Regions from separate parts of the Homo sapiens genome. Here regions 1, 2 and 4 are each linked to region 3. The links are contacts of gene promoters, found by promoter capture Hi-C in blood cells and fetal thymus (Javierre and others, 2016). All regions are on one chromosome and are shown on one strand. The core of a region is centred on a gene start or on the middle of the fragment in contact, and the rest is flanking DNA. Distances in the headings are between cores, read along the strand shown. Region 1 holds the start of DNAJA4-DT (DNAJA4 divergent transcript). Region 2 holds the start of IDH3A (isocitrate dehydrogenase (NAD(+)) 3 catalytic subunit alpha). Region 3 holds the start of CHRNA5 (cholinergic receptor nicotinic alpha 5 subunit). Region 4 overlaps DNAJA4 (DnaJ heat shock protein family (Hsp40) member A4).

Region 1 (5,600 bases), core at 208-2,707, 300 kb after region 3:
CTCTAAAATGCAGAGCATTTTCAGTCTATGATTGGTACTTATGATCAACTGTGTGTCACTTGTCACCGAAAACCCAGAATATGAGTACAAGCTGATGTCAGGTTGCAGATGTCCGTGTCCCTGTTTAATAAAGAAAATGGGATTATTCACTATCTGACGCTTTTATCAGGTAGGCAGTAGGTGCACAGAACAAATCCAGCTAGTCATTCTCAAGAGAGGCACGGCGTTTGTCCAAGGTACCAGCTCAGATTAAAGACACTCATCCCTAGGGTTTATGCATCAACAGAGAATATGAGCCAGTCGTTCCCAGCAAGTAAACAACTGTTTGTGTGTGCCTCAGTTTCCCGATTCCCAGGCCGCCTCTCCCACAGGGAACCAACACACCCTATGAGAACTAGTCCGGCGCGCACGGCAGGGGCTACCCAAACACTTGTGGAGCGAATGGAGGAATGAATGGGCTCGGCAGGGACTCGCGAGGGACCCAAGTGCCGCACCACATGCCTCCTCCGCGGGCGAAGCGCCCTCCACCGACCGCGCCGCACGGCGCCCAGGGTCTCCCGCCACCTCTGCCCGGCCTGGCCCCGAGGCGCCTGGCGACAGCCTCCCCAACAAACGCGGCTCAGGTTTCCCGTCGCCTTCAATGCTCCTGGCTTAATAACCCTTGGCCCCTCGGGAGCCCGGCCCGTGCCCCGCGCCGCCCCGCACCTTCTCGCCCTCATCCGGGTTCTTGTCCGGGTGGTACTTGAGCGCCAGCTTCCGATAGGCCTTCTTGATCTCCTCCGGGGACGCGCTGGGCTTCACGCCCAGGATGTCATAGTACTGGGTCTCCTTCACCATCTTGTGTCTGCGGGGGGGGCGGGCGAGGCCGGTCAGAGCGCCCCGGACGCCCCTGCCGGCACCCTGGCCCGCGCCCCTGGCCCGCGCCCCCGCCGCCCGCTCGCGCGTCACGGTCACGGTCGCCGCCGCCGCCGCCGCTTGTAGCTCCCGCCCGCCCCCCGCCCCGCGCCGGACCGACTTCCACGCCTGGCTCCACCGCACTAGAGCCACCGGCTCCTCCGCGGCGGGTTTTATTCGGCGCCGGCGGAAGCTTCCGCAAGGAGACGGTGACGCCACAAAGGCCTAGAACCTTCGCGGAGGTTCCGGCGGCCCCGCGGCGGGTTCGCGGCCCAGACCCCCGACGCCCGTCCGGCGCGGCCCAGCCGCTCACCTGGGCTTCTCGGGCGTCTGCTCCTTTGGCTGCCCGTCTGATTCCCCGGAGCTCCAGCTCTGACTGCCGCCCCGGGCCATGGCGGGGGCCGGAGAAGGCGGCTTGGGCCTGGAGGGCGCCCTCCGACAACTGTCCCGCCGCCCCGAGGCCGCCCCCTTGCCCTTCCGTGGGTCCGTGGAGCCGGCTGGCTGGAGAGTAGGCGGCCTGGAGGGCTGTGTTGGCCGGAGCCCTGCGCCGAAGGGTGGGACTGGGAGAGCTGCGCCCTGCGGTCCCCACCCGGCCTCTCCCCGGGGGTGTGGCCGCCGTCTGTTCGGTCACAGCCAGGCTGCGGCCTAAGGTGTGCCTGGGATTGTTGCATTTTTTAGGGGGTTGGAGTGGGTAGGGGCCCTCTGCTGCCTCATGACTGCAAGGCTGAGGTGAACCTCTGGCCTTCCAGTTGAGGTACAGGGGTCCTTTGCTGGCCCCAGATGTGGACAGTATCCTCTCGAATGCCCACCACTGGGAACCCTTAAGTCCCTCAAGGTGAGCAGTGACGTCCCCCACATATGGGCAGTGACGCCCCCCAAGTCTGCCAAGGGCCGACAGTGCCCTCTCTTCTCCCAGAAGTGGGAAACTGCCCCCTCTCCTCTGCACATCATCAGTGAGCAAACATCAGGGCCCGACCAGGCTGTTGGGCCCAGTGTTATGCACAGGGGGTCCCATGGCCTGGACCCTGAAACGGCTAGGTGGCCCAGGATGCTTGCCTTGGAAGGGTACAGGAGTAGGTCCCGACTTCCCTAGGCTGCCCCCAGCTCCCAACGGGTGCTCAGGGAGTCCAGATCACAAACCGTTGCAGAAAAGTGGGCGTGGAAAGCAGGCCCCAACGCTATCACAGAATTGCAGGCCCCTGTCCCCTAGCCCTCCCTTGGCTTCTGCCAGGGGAACAGTTTGTCAGAAAGGGGGGTCACTGCTCACCTCCCTGGGATGCCCTGGCCTTGTTTTGGGTACTGTGGCTGAAGCAGGTACTACCTCTCCTCCATGTGTTCCATGGGGGTGAGAAGTGACTTGTACTGTACAAGAGAAATTAAGCTGCTCTTCTTGGAGATGTTGCTTTTTTTTTTTTTAAATTATGCCTTGTAGAGCAGAACCTTTAGGCAGAGAACTCAGAGCTAGAGGTCAGAAACTTTGTTTTCTATCCAGATCTTACTGTCTGAGCCTTAGCATCTCAACACTTTTCTTCGTCAGCAGGACATGGGGATTGCCACTTGCCTGCCTTTCTCACAGGGCTCTTATAAGCATCAAATGGGATGATAACTGTGAAGACTCCTAGCGCAGTGGGTCTCAAACCTGGCTCCTGACAGAGATCACCTGGAATCTTCTAAAAATCCCTCTGGGTTGCACTCCACACCTGTTACCTTAGAGCTTCTAGGGGTGAGGCCCAGGCATCAGTGTTTTTCAAGCTCCCCAGGTGGTACAGCCAGAGCCGAGATCCACTGCCCAGGGTCACATACTTGTCCAGATTTAGTACTCGGGACCATAGGCATTCGTAAAATGGGCATGTGCAGGAGAGGGATGGCTTAAAGACAGAGCCTAGAAACATAGAATGGAGCTATGCACTTTGGACGACAGTGAATTCTGGAACCAGTGAGACTTAGACCTAGGTTCAAATCCCAGCACTGCTACTTCTGGCTGTGGAACCTTGGGCAGACAACTTAACCTTTCTGAGCCTCAGTTTTCTTAACCTTTTAATGAGGATATTAATTATAACTACTTCATAACTTTGTGAAACACCTGGTATATAGTCACAATATTGATGCTTTTTGGGGGTGGGGGGGTGCGGGCAGGGGCTAAGGTATAGAAGCTGATAGTGATTCTCTTCTTGATGGAACTTAGCCAGGCTCCTATGAGCCCTCTTCTCAACTAGGCTTCAGTCTTGGCCTATAAAGACTGAACAGACAGCAACACAGTTTCTAATAATTCAACGTCACATCCTTAAGATCACCAGTTCCCAGGCTTTTTGGCACCAGAGACCAGTTTCATGGAAGACGATTTTGTCACGGACAGGGTGGTGGGGGTGGGCAATAATTCTATGATGAAGGCCTGGCGTGGTGGCTCACACCTGTAATCCCAGCACTTTGGGACGCCGAGGTGGGCAGATCACTTGAGGCCACGAGTTCAAGACCAGTCTGGCCAACTTGGTGAAACTCCATCTCTACTAAAAATACAAAAATTAGCCAGGGATGGTGGTGCTCGCCTGTAATCCCAGCTACTCAGGAGGCTGAGGCACAAGAATCGCTTGAACCCGGGAGGCAGAGGCTGCAGTGAGCTGAGATCACACCACTGCACTCCAGCCTGGGTGACAGAGCAAGACTCTGTCTCAAAAAATAAAAAATAAATAACAATAGGATTGTCTAGTAAAATCAGATATTTTTGGCCAGGTGTGGTGGCTCAGGCCTGTAATCCCAGCACTTTGGGAGGTCGAAGTGGGCAGATCACTTGAGCTCAAGAGTTTGAGACCAGCCTGGCCAACATGGTGAAACCCCGTCTCTACTAAAAATACAAAAATTAGCCAGGTGTGGTGGCACGTGCCTGTAATCCCAGCTACTCAGGAGGCTGAAATAGGAGAATCACTTAAACCCGGGAGGCAGAGGTTGCAGTGAGCTGAGACTGTGCTACTGCATGCCAGCCTGGGCAACAGAGAAAGACTCTATCTCAAAAAAGAAAAAAAAATGGAGGATGAAACTGTTCCACCTTAGATCATCAGGCGTTAGATTCTTATAAGGAGCATGCAACCTAGATCCCCCGCATGCACAGTTCACAGCAGATTTCAAGCTCCTGTGAGAATCTAATGCCACTGCTTGGTTCCTGACAGGCCACAGACCAGTACTGGTCCGCAGCCTAGGAGTTGGGGGCCCCTACCTAAGGTGACCCTGGCCCCACTACCCCCTCTTAAAGTGCCTGCCTGAGAAAACTCAAGGCTGCCAAAATATTTACTGTGTTTTTGTTTCATCCAACACCTGAGGATAGAGCTTCTGTCTCCCAGTCTCTTTGGGAGAACGGCATCCTAACTTTGGCAATTGGCAGCTAGCAGACACAGCTGGCCTAATGTCACTTACACTGACCAACCCTTTGTCATTTTTCACTTCCCTGATTCTGTTAAACTGCTGCTTGTCCTTCTCCCTATTCCCTCATGTTCTTTTCAAAATGCCCAATTACTTTTCGTACAAATCGATATTGAGCTCAGTTCATACTAGATTGTTTTCCCTATTGCAATAGTTATGACTGATTAAATTCTGTCCTTACAATTTTAACTACTGTTCAGCTTTGTTTATCTTAGACAAAGCCTCTGACAATCTAGTAGATTATTTCCCAGAATTATGCTTGGGAGGATTGGAGGCATTACACAGACATTTCTTATTTTGTCAGTTATGTGTTTATTTTCATGATGACCTTTTCATTACTGCAACTTTTATTAAAAGTGACACTGACTTTCCACTCACAGTAAGCAATGTATGGTTTCCTTTTTATATTCTTTTAAAAAAGAGTAGATAAATAGTAAGTGTATGATAGTACCTGTAGTACAAGAATAAAGCAACAGTGGTGATACTTGAATGACAGAAATTTGGGAAATGCTGATCCAGTTCTACCATCTCATTCTACAGTTGGGGAGACTTTTAGACAAAGAAGCCACATTATACAGAACAGCCATTGTCCCTTGATGCAGTGTGGGGCTTCCTTTCTGACCCAGTGTAGAAGGAGAGTCAAAGCAAGCACGGAAGTAGGTTTTACCCAAGGAATGCTGGGATGGGGTCTTCAAGGAGTCTTCTGAGAGGGAGAAGCCACACCTACCTGGGGAGGGGGGTCAGGAAGGACTTCATGGACGAGGGACATGTGCCATAGACCAGGAAGTTAGAGCTCCCTTTAGCAGCAGGGAAAGGGAGGGCAGCCATGCTGAACGGACAGCAGGATAAAGGCAGAGAGCACAGATGGATGAAGGCTCTGAATTGGAAGGGAAGCAGGGACAGGTGTGCTAGAGCCTTGAATGCCTTGAGGAGCAGTTTGCTGCTCTCCTGGGCCCTGGGGAGCCATTGAAGGTTTCAGAGCAGGACCTGCGTTCTGAGAGGTGTAACTAGCAGCAGACCCCGGGGGCTGGGTGGATCTGGACCTCCTGGGAGAGGCCCAAGCTGGGCATGCCGGTTTGTAGAGGCAAGCCCAGAGAGAGGGCATAGAAGGAGAAAGAGAGCTCCAAGGAAAAGCGTTGGGGAGCGCCTGTCTTTAGGAAGTGGAAGGAGCAACAGCCATCGGAGAAGCAAGAGGAGAACCCAGAAAGCAGAGAGGACCAAAATCATGCAAGGCCAGAGCAGCGAGGGGTAGAGGAGACAGTGCCTGGGTGGCAGAGAGGCTGGGAATGGGG
Region 2 (5,187 bases), core at 159-2,658, 420 kb after region 3:
CCCGCCTTGACCTTGACGCCGTCCCCGCCTCTGCGCTGCTGACCCGGCCCGGGGCGGCCCATACACTGCGAGCCGGCCACGGAGCGCGGGGCACGGGCGACCAGGACCGGCTCCCAAGCTGTCCCCGCGGGCAGCCACCGCCTCCCTGTCTGGCCCACGCGCCCGCCCACACCCGGCACGCGACCGGCTCTCCTGCCAGCCCTCGCGGCCTGCCTGCCTGCCACACGCCGGCCTGCCAGCGCTCACCTTAGAGATCCACGCGGGCCCAGCCATCGCTTCCCCTCCTGGCTCCGCAGCAACAGCCGCAGCGGCAGTGCGCAAGCGCCCACCCCACGCTCGGAGCCCGCCCCTGCACGGCCACGCCCCCTGAACGCCCCGCCCCCTAGACCGCCTCAGGATTGCTTCGCGCTCGCTCGCTGCCCCGCCCCTGGACATTCCGCTGGCGAATCGCCGGGCTCGTCTCTCTGTGACTGGCCTGGCTGAGCGCCAGGCGAACCCGGAAACTGAGGGGCCGGCATCTCCGGGAAAGCTTCTTCCTCCCCTCCCTGGTTCATTGACTCGCTGTTAAGGTAAGACGTTTGTTCCACACCTACTAGGTGCTGATTAATGTTCTAGGATCTTGGGGATATAGCGCTCCTCATAGAATTTACAATCCCGTGGAGAAAGACACATAATTTTCTTATTCCACAAATTTTGATTTTTTTTTTTTTTTTGAGACCGGGTCTCACTCTGTCGCCCAGGCTGGAGTGCAGTAGCGCGAACAGGTTCACTACAAAGCCTCGACCTCCTGGGATCAAGTAATTACTAAGCCCAGCCCAACTTTGTTTTTTCTTTTCTTTTTCTTTTTTTTTTTTTTTTTTTTTCTCCGTAGAGATGGGGCCTCGCTATGTTGCTCAGGCTGGTCTGGAACTCCAGAGTTCAAGCGATCTGCTTGCCCCAGGCTCACAAAGTGAGCCACTGCGACTGGCCGAATTTTATTTTTTACCAGCTTTATTGAGGTATAATGTATATATAGTAACATTTACTCACTGTAAGTGTACAGTTTGATGATTTTTAGTAAATGTAAACAGTTGCACAACCATCACCACAATCCAGTTTTTGAGCATATGAAAATGTTCCTTGTGTCCGTTTATAGTCAATCCCGCTCCTGTCCTCAATCCCAGGCAACTACTAATCTGTCTATTTAGCTCAACAAATATTTCTGAGGGTCAACTAGACACCAGGCACTGTTTTAAGTGCTGGGGCTTAGTGTCCAGTAGGAAAGACAGGCTTCAATCAAGTGTCACACACATGTCATTAAAACTGTTGCGCCAAGAAGCAAAAGAGCAAGGAGCTATGGCAAGGCAAAATCAGGCAACCTGATTCAAACCTAACCTGGAGGTCAGGGAATGCTTCTCTGAAGAAATAACATCCATACTCACCTTTCCCCTTGTCCTCTCCCTGTCCATCACAAACTCCTGAGTTCCTGCTGATGGCCAGGCCTCTAGCTGGGTGCCAGGGGAGGTCAGGTGTTTAAACCAGGTCTCTGCTACCCTACCCTGGGAAGAGTTCTATCCAGAGAGGAGCTGCCTACCCACCCAGAGAGGTGATGAGTGCAGTAGAGAAGTGATCCCAAGAGCTTTTATGACCTAAATAATAAACTGCAGCTAAGTCTGTGGCCTTGTCAGGAAGGAGGGCTTTTATCAACCCCTTTCCATTGGGCCCCTTCCCCTCATCAGGCCCTGGCAGTCCCATCCTGAAGTGTTCTCCCACAGTTCCTCCATCCCCAATGTCACCCCTGCCCTCCTTCGGGCCAGACCACCTCAGGCCCAGGCTCTTACAACAGCCTCTTCACCTGCCAACCTGCCCTCCCCTTCAGGCACAGCTCTGACCAGGGCTCGCCCCGGCTCTGAAACCTCCTGGCTCTCCCTTGCACTCTCCTCTCACACCACTGTCTTTTTTCAGCCTGATTTCCCACCACTCCTTCCAGCCCCAAAGACCTGGAGCGCCTGCCAACTAGGACTGCTGGCCAGCCCCCAAATGCTTCCCATATTTTACCTCTCCGTGCCTATGGTCGTGCCATTCCCTCAGCCTCAATGCCCTCTTGCCCCACTTCTACTGGCTGAAATTCTAGCTCCTTGTCAAGACTCAGCTTACATGTTGGGAAGTAGTAAAAGTTGTAAAAGCCCCCAAGACCCACGAATGTGTCCCCCTCTCCTTACTCAGAGCCCTCTAGCACTTGGCTCCCACCTCTCCTGGGAAACATCACATTCTCTTCTGCTGTGTGCCATTGAGAAGATAAGCTTTGGGCCAGGCGTGGTGACTCACGCCTGTAATCCCAACACTTTGGGTGGCCGACGCAGGTGGATCACTTGAAGTCAGGAGTTGGAGACCAGCCTGGCCAACATGGCAAAACCCTGTCTCTACTAAAAATACAAAAATTAGTTGGGCGTGTTGGCACATGCCTATAATCCCAGTGACTCAGGAGACTGAGGCATCAGAATCGCTTGAACCCACGAGGCAGAGGTTGCAGTGAGCCGAGATCATGCCACTGCACTCCAGTCTGGGTGACAGAGCGAGACTCTGTCTCAAAAGAGATAGAGAGAAGATATGCCTTAAGTCCAGAGATAATCTTGATGATCTCTTATGACGTTGTTTCTGGAACAGAGACTGGTACACAAGGAATACTTGCTGCTCAGTGATTGTGAAATAAACATTGACTGACTTTGTCCAGTCTTCATTTAATCTTCACAACAACCCTATGAGAAAACTGAAGTACAGCTAGTAAGTGATGATGCTGGCATTCACACTAGGAAGCTTCCTAAGTACTAAGGCAGTTCTCCTAACTGCTGAACTTTCGCTGAGGGCCAGTCCAATCCTACAAAGGCTTCCCAAGCCATTCTCTAGCAAGTGCACTGTGAGAACAAAAAATGAACAAGACCCACTCCTACCCTCCAGATCTAGTGAGGGAGAAACTCAGAAGTCTCAGATGGAAGTTGGGGGGTGATCAAGGAAGATTGCACAATGGAGATGGCATTTGAATCAGTCCTTGAAGAGGTAAAATGTCAGCAGCTGGAGGGACATGCAGGAAACAGAAATGACCTCACCTTGAGCTGAGATCTGTTCCCTGAGTCAGCCCTTGGCTCCAGAAGCCCCAGTCACCATTCCTCGAACATGTTCTAGAGTTCCTCCAAGATGCAGGTCACTCTCCTCTGGAAAAGCCCTTTTTCCTTGTCCCTTGCACTGTGTAGTGCCCAGAGATACCATCAGCAAAGTATGTTTGGACAAGACGGTGGGAAAACTTTGCCACTCAGGAGAAGAATCTAGAAAGTGCACCCTTATCTGTAATAACAAGCACTATCCAATCCAGGTGTGCTTCACTCTAAGGAAAAAAAAAAAGATTTTAAAATCAAGAGGCCAGGTGCGGTGGCTCACTCCTGTAATCGCAGCACTTTGGGAGGCAGAGGTGGGTGGATCGCCTGAGGTCAGGAGTTTGAGACCAGCCTGGCCAATATGGTGAAACCCCATCTCTCCTAAAAGTAACAAAAATTAGCCAGGGGTGGTGGTGTGCATCTGTAGTCCCAGCTACTCAGGACGCTGAGGCAGGAGAATCACTTGAACCTGGGAGGCGGAGATTGCAGTGATCCAAGATCGCACCACTGCACTCCAACCTGGGTGACAGAGCGAGACTCTGTGTCAAATAAATAAATAATAAAATCAAGATAGCAATTTTTAAGTGAATAAATCAGCAAAACAGAATATACATTATTCACATACCAAATGTTTATTTTTTGTTACAAAAGAAATTCATTTCAACAGTTTTCCTACTTTATTTAAAATATTATTTTCATTAAAGATATGATTGGCAAAGGGTTCATCCCTATCTCTAAGTTAGGAAAAGATCCAACAAATTGGTAAAGAAGGTATTAGGACTTTAGTAAATAAATGGGAAAAGGGGACTGGGCGCGGTGGCTCACGCCTGTAATCCCAGCACTTTGGGAGGCAGAGGTGGGTGGATCACGAGGTCCGGAGTTCAAGACCAGCCTGGCCAAGATGGTGAAAGCCTGTCTCTACTAAAAATACAAAAAATTAGCTGGGCGTGGTGGCGGGTACCTGTAATCCCAGCTACAAAGGAGGCTGAGGCAGAGAACTGCTTGAACCTGGGAGGCCGAGGTTGCAGTGAGCCGAGATCGTGCCACTGCACTCCAGCCTGGGCGACAGAGTAAGACTCTGTCTCAAACAAAACAAAACAAAAAACATAGGCCGGGCATGGTGGCTCATTCCTGTAATCCCAGCACTTTTGGAGGCCGAGGCGGGCAGATCACAAGGTCAGGAGGTCAAGACCAGCCTGGTTAACATAGTAAAACCCCCTCTCTACTAAAAATACAAAACTTAGGGAGGCATGGTGGTGCACACCTGTAGTCCCAGCTACTGGGGAGGCTGAGGCAGGAGAATCACTTGAACCTGGGAGGTGGAAGTTGCAGTGAGGCGAGATCACACCACTGCACTCCAGCCTGGGTGACTGAGTAAGACTCCGTCTCGGGAAAAAAAAAAACAAAACAAAACGGGAAAAGGACCTGAATAATCAATTCACAGCCAAATAAACTTTTAAATAAATGTTCAATCTTAACAATAGTCAAATGCATGCAAATTTCTAAAAAAAATTATTTTTATTTAAAAATATTAATAAAATGCAATGCCTTATACCATCCAATTTATGGCGCACTGCTTGGCTGGCCTTATACATTTCCACAATCTCTTTGGAAAACAGTTTAGCAATGTGTCTTAAGAGAGACATTAACTGTTCTTACTCTTTCACCTAGTAAATCCATTCCTGAGAATTAAACTCTTGGGGAAAAAAATCCAGAAAGAAAAAGCCATCAACACAAAGATATTCATTATACAATTATCCTTAATTTTGAAAACTAAAAAGAGAAAAAAGCAGTCTAAATGATTAACAGAAGAAATGGTTATGTAATTTAGGGGAAATGAATGAAGTGGACCATCATGCAGCCTTCAAAAGTGATCAATGGCCTGGCATGGTGGTTCACATCTGCAATCCCAGCACTTTGGGAGGCCGAGGTGATCACTTGAGGCCAGGAGTTGAAGACCAGCCTGGGCAACATAGCAAGACATAGTCTCTACAAAATATAAAAATTTAGCCAGGCATGGTGGCATGTACCTGTAGTCCCAGCCACTTGGGAGGCT
Region 3 (5,405 bases), core at 1,768-4,267:
ATACCTATGTAACAAACCTGCAGGTTCTGCACATGTATCCCAGAACTTAAAGTAATATTTTAAAAAAAAAATTAAAAAAATAAAATGTCACACAGCTAAGAAATATAACCATTGGCTTTAAAATGTCACATAGCTAAGAAATAGTAAGAAATATAACTAGTTAGGTAGTTAATGACTATCTAACTTCCATAATCACTGTCCCAATCACAGGTCAGTTTAAAATGCTTGTATTATCTTGATGTACTAGTTCATTATACTTTAATATATTATACTTTAATTGTCTCCTGAGCCACTTTCCACAGCTCTGTGACCGTTCATCAGCCAAATAATAGCTGCGGGCTGACTAGATATTCTCTTTACCTGGGAACTGGCTCACAGAAAACCACAGGGAAAAGTTACTATTAAGAACCTAAGACGAATATGAAAACAATAAATTGTAAAAATAAAGGTAATTATATTTGAACTTAAAAAACTTAAAGTTGACTTAAAAACATCTACTACCGCCCTTTCATTTTAAAGAGAGAGAAACAAAGAATCAGCAAGGTCAAGTAATACGTCCAAGGAAACACAGACAGCGAGTGGCAGGTCTCCTATTTCCAGACAGTACTTTCAGCCACCCACATGGAACGACAGTTGTACACAAATGCATATTAACAGTTAAGAGCAAGTGTGCAATTACATCATCCATTCAGTATCACTTTGTTCTTCAAGATGATCACTTCTAAGAGCACACAGAATCTTATAATTTTCAAGGTGGAAGGGGGATCCTTTAATGGCCCCTCACCATCCAGATGGAGAAACTAATATCCAGAGAGGTAATACTGTTCCACTCCTTCCTTCCGCAAACCTTCACTGGGCTCCTACATTAAGGCAGGTGTTGGCGATACAAAGATAAACAAGAATCACAGTTCTTAAGGAGCTTACGTGGAAGCAGGAGGAAACAGAAGTGCAATAGAACCAGATGGTTATTATGAGAGAGATATTAACTAAGTGGGGCAGAAAGCAGGAACTAATCGATTTCACTTTGTTATAACACTGAACACCATGCATGAAGGGAGATAGCTATTTACACTATTTAATGCTTGGCTACAGTGTTCTATATTAAAAGACATGAAACAGATTTTTAAAGTTCAGTTTCATCAAAAGGGGTAGAGAACTACCATTTTCTCGAGTGTCAGGCACTGTGCCTGGCATTTTATATGCATTATTTAATCCTCAAAAGAACTCTGAGAGGTAAGCATGATTATTACCCCCATTTCTTTTCTTTTCTTTTTTTTTTTTTTTGAGACGGAGTCTCGCTGTGTTGCCCAGGCTGGAGTGCAGTGGCGCGATCTCGGCTCACTGTAACCTCCGCCTCTCGGGTTCACGTCATTCTCCTGCCTCAGCCTCCCGAGTAGCTGGGACTACAGGCGCGCACCACCACGCCCGGCTAATTTTTTTGTATTTTTAGTAGAGACGGGGTTTCACTGTGTTAGCCAGGATGGTCTCGATCTCCTGACCTCGTGATCTGCCCGCCTCGGCCTCCCAAAGTGCTGGGATTACAGGCGTGAGCCACCGCGCCCGGCCCGCCATTTCTTAAAGAAGGAAAACAGCTGAGAGAAGTTCGTCCAGTCAGGATGCACCAGAGCCATAATTTGAATACAGGTTTGCCTGGCTCCAAAATCACATTCCTTTCTTTCTGTTTAACTCTCTCTGCCCAGGATTTTCTTCATTTGTTTAAATCACCCTCCATCTTATTTCTCTTCGGTCTACACTAAGCAATACATCCTGCAATGAATTATTCTAGTCTTATTACTTCCTAAAATCAGGAGCCATAGATTAAAAACCTTAACAAAGGAAAGGCAAGAAAAGGTTCTTGCAATATTTCCACTATTTAAGAAACTCACTCATAAAACCTGAAATACAGACGTAGTGAACTTCTGTAATCATATCTTGCTTAACGGATGCTTAGCTTTTCTACGTTTAGATCACACCATAGCTGCTCCACAAACGTGTTTTTCTTCAAGGTATTGAGAGAACTGACTCTAAAACTTTCCCAAGCACTTGAAACATGTAGGACTACGCGATTTCTTTTGTTGTTTCCATTCCTGTCCAAAACCTCTTGAAAAACAGCAGGCTGAAAAAAGCTGTGCTCTAAGGAGCTAGTGAGGAACTCTGGATGCAAACGATTAGCCCCGAAGCCAGGGAAGTTGGCCGCCTAGCCTGCTACAACACACACCTTTCATCTCCGGCGAAAGGAAAGGTTTTCAAATGCTGCGGTGGGTAGGGGACAGGGATGGAGGAAGAGGCGGCGGGCAGGAGGTGGAAGATAAGTCCCAACCCCTAGAATGAACCCCAGAGTCTCTATATCCCGTAAATGGGCAACAAAATGGGAAGCTTGGCTGCCACCAGGACAGGAAAGCCCTGCTGGACAAGAGTGGCATCTTTTACTGAAAAAGTTGTGTGGAAGTATACGCTAAGCCAGCCTCGTAGTCTCCAGCGATGCAGGTCGTGGAACAACAAAGAAAACCCACCCAAGTAGCCCTTTCTCTGCATTTAAATGAGCAAATCTGGACATTTAAACTGAAACCTCACTCCAAGCCCCCAGGAGAAAAAAACCCACCTCCCCTCGCAACCAGGTTTTCCGGCGGCCGTCGCCTGGCGGCTTCCTGGGCACCGCGATGTGGAGTCCGGGCCAGCTCCCGCCCCGCCCCTCTGCAGCCCGGGCTTACCTCTCTGCGCGCCGCCCGCCGCGCCCGCTAGACCGCAGCGCCCCGCGACCAGCTGGACCAAGAGCAGCAGGCGGAGCGCGCGGGGCCCTGACCCCCGCGCCGCCATCGCCCCGCGCCCGCGCGGGACCGCGGGCAGCCGCCTCTCGACCGCCGCGCGGGGAACGCGAACTCTTGGGGAATGGAGCACTGAGTGTGAGTCGTGAGACAAAACGAGGGCAGACGCAGCAGAGGGGCCGCTCCGCGCCACAGCTCCCGCCGGGACAGCAGCCTCAGCCTAGCAGCTTCTGGCGGGCTCGGGACGCATGTGGAAGCTCCCGGCGCCTAGCCCCGCCCCTATTTCCCTCTGGCCCCGCCCAATCCTCGCCTTGTTCCTTTTGGCCCAGTCCGGTCTATTCATAGCCCCGCCTCCGATCCCCACCAACCCTTTCCCCACCCCGCCCCGCCTCTGGTCCAACCCTGTCTGCTCCTAGCTCCTCTTTTTCCACGCCTGGCCCAGCCCCATCGCCCTGGCCCCCGCCTCCAGGCCTTCCTTTGGGCAGGTGCGACCCTGGAGCAGAGTTCCAGGAAGGCAAAGACTTGAGGCTGGCATCGCAGGCGCGTCCTTCTCTAACCACCGGATGTCCTTGGCCTAGTCACTGCACACCTTAAGATAACAGCTATTCATTGATGTCTGCTCTGTGCTCAGCACCAAAAGGGGAAGCAGAGGGACAGATTGCTCCCAGCTGATAGAAAATGTAAATAAAGTAATTCCGAGTTGTGATCAGAAAGAAACAAGCTGGAGGCTGGGGCAGAATCACAGTGGTGGGGGACTTGCTCCAGGCTGCAGCGCTCTCCATGGGCCCCGCTGCCCACTCAAGTCTTTCTCACCAGGAAGTACCAGTCGCAGCTTGACTGCCTCCTGGGGCTGTCGTGTCAGCCAAGGGGTCCCCACCAGGAGACCTGTGTTGTGGACCAGCGAGACAACCCTGGGCAAGTCACTTTCCTCTCTGGGCCTGTTTCCTCGTCTGGAAGCGAGGAACCGAGGCAGATAAACTAGAGGACTCGGGAAGGTACAGCTCTGACACTCACTCAAGCCATCCCCGGAAATGATATGCAGTCGCCTCAAACGTGGGCATCGCCCTCCGTGTTGTCATCAATTAACATTTGTAAATATTAGTGACTATCTGCTACAGACACTTAGCACCTCTGGTGGAGATTGGTGCCGACTGCTGGAAACCCGTCTCAAATCCCTCCAGACCCTATATTTCATCCTCTCTGTCCATAATTAGAAAGCTTCATTTGGCTGAAGGGATTCAGGCGAATTATCTTTAAACTTCAGTGGCAGAGGGAGCCGCTGACTCTTCACAGAACGCTTTATGGAGGTGACACCTCTAAGACTCATTGTGAGCAAAAATTTCACTCCACCCTCCAGACTAGTAAATCTGTGAAAAACTAAACCTGGTTGCAAAGAATCTAAACAGCAAAATTCAGTGAAGATGCTCTTCTTAGGTCCAAATACAGCTGGAAAAATGTAAATTACATCCAATGGAGCCAATCTGTTTAAACAGGACTTAAACAAAGGGGCCACAGAAAAGGGATGCACAAGATGTTAACCAGATTAGTAATTAATTGCACTTCTGCACAGAAATGAAAGACAGTACCTATCATCCTTTCACTGCAAATTTACATTTTACTCTGAAGAATTTATGGGACTTACAGGCACTTATGCAATTCATCCTAACAGTGTTTGGATGACTTTAAAATGTTATTCTGCTTTTACAGCTAACTGATTTGAAACAGAGGAGTTGAATAACTGCTGAAGGTCACAGTACCTGTCAGTGGCAAAACTAGAATGAAATGGTTGTCAGTGCAGCCACTGCAAGTATAATTGGAACTCCTAGATGTTATATCAATAATCATGAGAATGATGGTTATTTACATAATCTATGAAAAACACTATTAATTGTTGCTATTAAGTGAAAGGCAAAGCGTGACATTTGTTGGGCATTTTAAAATCCAAACAAATAATCAGAATATAATGTCTACATCTTACATGGTTTTTCCAGGGGGATACGCCAATTACTCATGGTTGCTGGATATGGTGCTACACCTGACTCTGATAACAGGCATCTTCACACTGCTAGGAGACATTAGCTGACCAAATGACAATGAAAATTGCTGCTGTTGCTGCAGCCACCACCTACAAAGTTCCCCTAAAGTGGCATCTATCTACCAACTTTCTGAGACTTAGCCAAAGGGACTATTACACAGTTCTTGCATCCCAGACACCACCTTTTCCTCTGAAGATTGTGGAATTTTTATTACACTTTCCTGTCTTCATTTATCCTTCCTTCTCCCCTCTTCTGAATATCCAAACCCACGCTTTCTTCAAGGCTCATTTCAAATGCCACCTGCCTTCTCTTTATCTATTTCTCCATAATTATGTTCTCTACTAGATAGTGGATTTCTCAGCCTAGAGGCTATGTCTTTTTTTTTTTTTTTTTTTTTTTTTTTTCCTAGTAGAGACAGGGCTTTACTCTTGCCCAGGCTGGAGTGTGTAGCAGTGTGATGATAGCTCACTGTGGCCTCAACCTCCAGGGCTCAAACTCAAGCGATCCTCCCTCCCCTGCCTATCAAGTAGCTGGGATTACAGGGGTGCACCCCTACAACCAGCTAATTTTTTTAGTTTTGATTTTTTTGTTTGTTTCTTTCTTT
Region 4 (5,444 bases), core at 1,658-4,157, 280 kb after region 3:
TGCAATACTGCTGAGTCTTTCATGTGTGCTCGTATCCCCTGGGAACCTGGTGAAAATGCAGATGCTGCTTCACTAGGTCTGGCAGAGGGCCTGGGATTCTGCATTTCTAACAGGCTTCCAGGTGAGGCCAAGGCTGCTGGTCCTAACCACACTGTAAGGTCTTGGGGAACTGAGCATAAAAAATAAAATGTCCATGGCAATATAATATTGGCTTTTAATATATTTTAAATATTTTTAGATGGTCCTATAGATTTCTCCTCTTTGAAATGGAACTTAAAGTTAACTAACATTGTTCATGCTTATTTTTCAACTTAAATTGTCCCAACAAAATTGAGGGGGTTCTATCTTGATATTCCACTTCTGGATTTAAGCATCTTACTCAGGGAGTAAGTCCTGGCTAGCTGTGTTTCCTTGTATGTATGGATCATTGCGGTGCTGTGTCAGAGGCTGGAGTGAAAGGCCATCATGCAGCCCAATCCCAACACTAAAATCAGAGTAGGGTGACAGGCTTACCACCCAGAATCACCTCCTAATAATCAGGAAGTTATTTATGATTAGAGAAACTCCAACCACATCAATTCTGTCTGGGAAGGAGGTGTGAATCAGTTAATTTAACACATAGCAAATAAAAATCTATGGTCCACAATATCATGTTGTCTAGCTCCTGGGGACAGGCAGGCTCCATAGGCCACTAATAACAGAGTGAGAATTACTGACTGTGGGGGGCGGACACAAGGGGTCAGCTGAGGAGCGCAGTTTGTGACTTTCCCTATAGGCAGTGACCTCGGGGTAGTTGTGGGGCTCTTTCTTCCTGGAAGCATAAATGTTGGTCTCTTATGGCTTCCGTCTTCCTGGCATTAGGTTACACTTCAGGATTCTGACTCTTTGAAAGGGTTGTAGATAGTCTTGATTAGTACTGTATTTAAAAATGATTTTTTTTTTTTTTTTTGGAGTATGGGAAGGGGCAGGAATTCTAATTAAATAGCAATAATGGAAGGTGCTCGGTTAAAGCCTCCATTCTCACTGATTTAGAAAGTACAAGAACATCCTCATCTCAGTTTTGGTAGATTCAGAATAACGAGAAAATAAGGATGTTCATTTCATAAATATTATAAAGAATAAAGGCATTTGTAGAACTATCTTTTTTTAAATTTACAGGTCTGGGGAGTAAAATACAATGGAAATGGTTCAAAAATTGTGTCTGTTGGAGATGACCAGGAAATTCACATCTATGATTGTCCAATTTAAACATCAAAGTCTCCAGGCTTATGCTGCAAAGAGAATGTACGGATTGATCATGACATTCCTTACCTTCTTAGGCTTGTTTAAAAGAAATATAGCATTTATTGTAGCAAAGACTTAAATTTTGTAGATACAATATGAATCTTTTCATGTTTTATTGGAAATGCTGTTCATACTTTAACATAAAGCTTTCTTAATGCAAACACTGGTGTCCTTGAACATGCTTCTTTTTTCAGTTACCCTATTACCAGTGAAACAGTGAGAGGGATTGGCATTAAGAGCAAATCTCTGCCTTAGCCATCAAGAGATCCAGGTATTTCTTTAACTTTCCAGCTTAGAAATACAGGCTGACTCTTCCAGGGAGTTGACTTATGCAGTGAGATACAGCAGCGAGCTCCCCGGAGCTGTGATAAAGAAGCTAATCTATTTTAGAATGGAGTCCTGAAGGAAAGAGTATATTTGACTGCATAGGAACATTATGTACTCCTGTCTATCTGGGCATCCTTCCACTTGATGTATTAAAGATGTCCCCTGCCAAGCCCTCCTTCCCCTTATTAATTTCAGAGAGGTCTCTAACTCGCTAGGTGGGTATCGGAAGGCAGGCTGCTATTCTTGCTGCCTTAACAATGCCTAGGCTGAAGCCTGTGCCTCATGCTGTAGAACTGTAGCCCTGCCTTAGTTATTTCAGAGTATCTGTACCTCAGAGTTTCCTCTTCATCAGCCCCCTTGAGACTCATGTTAATGAGAAAGATGTAAGTAGCTGAACACTTGGAAGCGTGTTTTTTATTGATCATTACTTCATATGCTTATGAGTCAGGTCATGTGCTTTTCCTCAAACCACTCACTGCCCTCAGAATAAAGCTCACACTCTTTATCATAGCCCCCCACTTCTCCCTCCTGCTTGCCTTGCTCACCCTCCTGTAACCACATCATCCTTGCCATTCCTCTGCCTGGAATGTTTTCCCTCCAGACCTTCGGACATCTGCTCCCCAGCTGCATCCAGGATTCTGCCCAGATGCCAGCTCCTGGTAGAGGCCTTCTTCCCATTCCCTTCTACTCATTCCCATTCCTCTTGTTCTTCATAGCAGTTACCACTTTTTGTTTGCATTCACCCCCACCCCCAAAATAAAGCTCCATGAGGGTGGAAACTTCATTCCATTATGTCAACCAATGAGAGGCAAGCTGGCAGGCACCTAACACTGTTTATGTGAGCTCTCAAAAAAAGGAAAAAGCAAAGCCACTTATCTCTCATACCAGCTCAATTTTAATTTTAAAGTGACAAATGTACAGGTGGAATAAAATTTTAAGCGACACCCTCCAAATTCCTTTTATATGACAAGAAGGAGCTGAATGTAATTTTACACCATTACCAACTAAACAGTAGTTCTTTAGCAATAATTAGGAAGTCACAGCACAAAAACGACACCCCAGAGTTGTGGTCCATTTATAAATAGATTTTCACCTAGGCTTCGTTGGAAGAAGTGATTTTATATCTATCCTCACCAATGGTCAAAGTGGGCACAGGTGGGCTGTTTCTATACTTTGAGCAAATTATGCCTCACTAGCTGGCAATGTTTTGCGGGAACCTGGTCCGTGCAGCTGGTTCACCTTACCTGCATGGTCTGATCTGCACTTTGACCCTCCTAAGGAAGATCCCTGGTCTGAGTGAAACTCTCAGGTGCCATGTAACCAAATAAGGGTAGGGTAGATCTGACAGGTGGCCTCTGCTTTAACCCAGCAGCTTACAAGTTTTTTGTGACTTGGGGAAAAGAAATAAGCAGTAATGGCTAAAGACTGAGGTAACCCTAAGTTCGAATTGTAGTCTACCTGTCATGAATAAAATAATGACTAATATCCCTCCAAACAAGCTATAATTTACAGTAGTAGTCCATACAAACTGTAATCCACAGTGGAACTCAGCGAAGTTCTTACCAAAACATCACTTGAGCAGGAAACCCTTTGTAATATGGCTGTGCAATGAGAGGAACGATCCTTTGGAAGGGAGCTCAATCTGGGAGAATGAGGTGGAAAACACTGGGGAGTTCTATGCCTTTGCAGACCCTCAAGTCACCCCGGATTACTGGTCAGAGAAGCTGGCTGTGCCATGGGCCAAACCAGCAGCATTCTCCCTTGGCTTCTGTTGCTGCACTGAGGCTGCCGGGGACACAGAAGGATTTAGTTTTCTTTACAAGTAAGCACTTTGGTGGGAAAGCATTGCAAAAGTTGTCAACAGAAAATCATTAAAACCCTGAAGAACAAGGTGTGAGGGTCACAGGCAAACAGTTATCAGCATATGATTCAAACACTGGTTTGTCCTCACCACAGAGCTTGGAAGGTTCAGAAAACTTCCAAGAGAGATGATCAGACACTCACGTTCCATCCACTGAAGGGCACAGAACAGTAGGAACTAAGTTGGCCCTGTTAAGCAGGCACATGCAGCCATGTCCGATCCACGGATGTGCTTTTATTCTTTAAGAGGATCATCTAGAATCCTCAGAAATGTTATCTTAGCAGCCCTGAGATCATGCCCTCAATAACTCTGCCAAGGGAAGAGGGGAGAAACCACAGACCTAGAGATGAGTCAGGATGCCCACTTTGTGCCTTGGGGTTTGCTAGGGGGGCTAAGCTGCTAACTGGGCTGTGCCTTATTGGTGACACTGAATTATGGCAAAGCCACTAGAAGCACAAAGTATTGGTGCAATCACTGACATCTCAAAAGTATATCCTGAAAATAGAAATGAACAGATTCCATATGCAGACTAGAGGTGATTTATACTTAAAACATTTAAATATAAATTAAGCTATAACTTAAGTTACAACCAAAAGAAAAGCCAAAAAGACACTCAGCAATTAAGAATGCTGAACACATACACAGGACATCCCAAACACAAGGCCATTAAAGCGATGTCATTTTCATTGTGCCAACTTTACATTCATCATGTGCTAGTCCGGTGGGGCCACGCTGCCCCGCACCACGTCATGCCGTCTGGCACTGCACTCCAGCCTGGGGCCCGTCTTCGTCCTCCTCGTAGGCCTCCCTGTGCTGACGCCAGTTCTGCTCATTGGGACAAAACTCCTTCAGCTCCACCTGATCCATGTCATCTGTAATCCTCACTTTCTGTCGAGGAGGGAGTAAAGCTTCCAGCTGAGGAAGCTTTTCCAGAGAAAGCCAGTGTTTTTCAGGAAAGATTACCTGTAAAGGGTGAGGTGGGAAAGAAAGGTGGCTGTTTTTTCCCCTTCCAATTAAGGCATTTAATAATATGTCCATGACAATGAAACATAGTGAACTTACTAAAAACTGTATGATCAGAATCCCTTTTTCCAGGGGTGCTTTGTAGATGGGCATTCCTTCATCGCGCACGCATCTCAGGTCCCCGTGCTTTATCACCTCACCTGCCAGAGAAAGGGTCAATTAGGAAGGAGGAAGGCAGAGGGGCCTGCAGAGGTCGTTCTCCCTCATGGGAGAGCCTGCGGCAGGCCCTAGTGCCCCGTGGCAGTGGGCAAAGGAAACGTGGCATCTGACTGGAAAGCTGGCCCCAATCCCAGGTATCCTTGTCAGGTACTGCCTGGGGAAGGGGCTCAGGCTGAGACTCTGGCCTGTGCTCTGGGCTCCAGCAGTGTGTCAAGAGGGCAGCATGGTGCAGCTGCCATCACAGGTAGGTTTAAAACAAGTGAACTAGAAGTCATGACACCCAAGTCTGCCTAAAATGGGGCCAACACCTGTCACCCTGCCTCTTTGTGGGGTGACAGGTATCCCTACCACGAGGGGGACAGGAGTGCTCCCCACAGACAGGAAGAAGCCTCAATAGAGTCCAACCAGTCCCCTGCCTGGCATAAAAACTGGCTCTTGGCCACCTGCAGGTGACACCCAGGTTCCTTGGTAGGGAGCTCACTAGGTGGCTTGGCCACTGGCAGACTCCTTCATGGTCACAATGCACTTCCATACATGCTGCTGAGCTGGAGTCACCCTCCCGGCTGGCACCCGCTGGGTCTTACAGCTACGTGACTTTGGAAGGCATCAGAGGAGTTCAGACCCCAAGAACTCTAAGGCGTTCTCCCAAGTCAGAAACTTCCCTCTAAGCATGGAAAAGGAAAGGGACAAAAGGGTTTCTGATAAAGCATGCTCTTCAGCTCAGCGATGAAAATGGACAAAGACAGAAAGAAATGTTCGGAAAAAATGGGGGAGACGGTGGAGGGGAATG

Evidence for each region. Contacts are between HindIII fragments. The CHiCAGO score rates a contact against its expected background, and 5 or more counts as called.
Region 1: a contact is called between the fragment with the promoter of DNAJA4-DT here and the fragment with the promoter of CHRNA5 in region 3, in 8 of 17 cell types (fetal thymus, M1 macrophages, M2 macrophages and 5 more). The highest score is 7.0, in fetal thymus.
Region 2: a contact is called between a fragment that was not itself captured here and the fragment with the promoter of CHRNA5 in region 3, in 3 of 17 cell types (fetal thymus, megakaryocytes and erythroblasts). The highest score is 6.6, in fetal thymus.
Region 4: a fragment that was not itself captured here is called in contact with the fragment with the promoter of CHRNA5 in region 3 in 1 of 17 cell types (endothelial precursors); the score reaches 5.1 in endothelial precursors.

What each region holds. Positions count from the first base shown.
Region 1 is chr15:78,260,001-78,265,600 of GRCh38, reverse strand. DNAJA4-DT (DNAJA4 divergent transcript) reads left to right here and starts at 1,457. Exons shown (of 4, transcript XR_001751621.1): 1 at 1,457-1,544; 2 at 1,644-1,729. DNAJA4 (DnaJ heat shock protein family (Hsp40) member A4) reads right to left here and starts at 1,039. Exons shown (of 7, transcript NM_001130182.2): 1 at 706-1,039. The coding sequence starts at 837. RefSeq lists silencers at 506-795, 1,106-1,185. The HindIII fragment of the contact is 6,233 bases long and covers 1,090-5,600 here.
Region 2 is chr15:78,144,490-78,149,676 of GRCh38, reverse strand. IDH3A (isocitrate dehydrogenase (NAD(+)) 3 catalytic subunit alpha) reads right to left here and starts at 315. Exons shown (of 11, transcript NM_005530.3): 1 at 247-315. The coding sequence starts at 273. LOC124903534 (a long non-coding RNA gene) reads left to right here and starts at 458. Exons shown (of 2, transcript XR_007064725.1): 1 at 458-569; 2 at 1,945-5,187. RefSeq lists a silencer at 1-355. The HindIII fragment of the contact is 1,753 bases long and covers 532-2,284 here.
Region 3 is chr15:78,563,132-78,568,536 of GRCh38, reverse strand. It overlaps CHRNA5 (cholinergic receptor nicotinic alpha 5 subunit), which reads right to left and starts at 3,017. Exons shown (of 6, transcript NM_000745.4): 1 at 2,712-3,017. The coding sequence starts at 2,817. RefSeq lists a silencer at 2,730-2,819 and an enhancer at 3,630-3,819. The HindIII fragment of the contact is 1,607 bases long and covers 2,379-3,985 here.
Region 4 is chr15:78,279,236-78,284,679 of GRCh38, reverse strand. It overlaps DNAJA4 (DnaJ heat shock protein family (Hsp40) member A4), which reads right to left. Exons shown (of 7, transcript NM_001130182.2): 6 at 4,535-4,635; 7 at 2,489-4,435. The coding sequence ends at 4,220. SKIC8 (SKI8 subunit of superkiller complex) reads left to right here. Exons shown (of 11, transcript NM_025234.3): 11 at 1,159-1,445. The coding sequence ends at 1,248. Among named protein-coding and RNA genes, the nearest start is that of DNAJA4, 17 kb to the right of the region's middle. The HindIII fragment of the contact is 2,950 bases long and covers 1,433-4,382 here.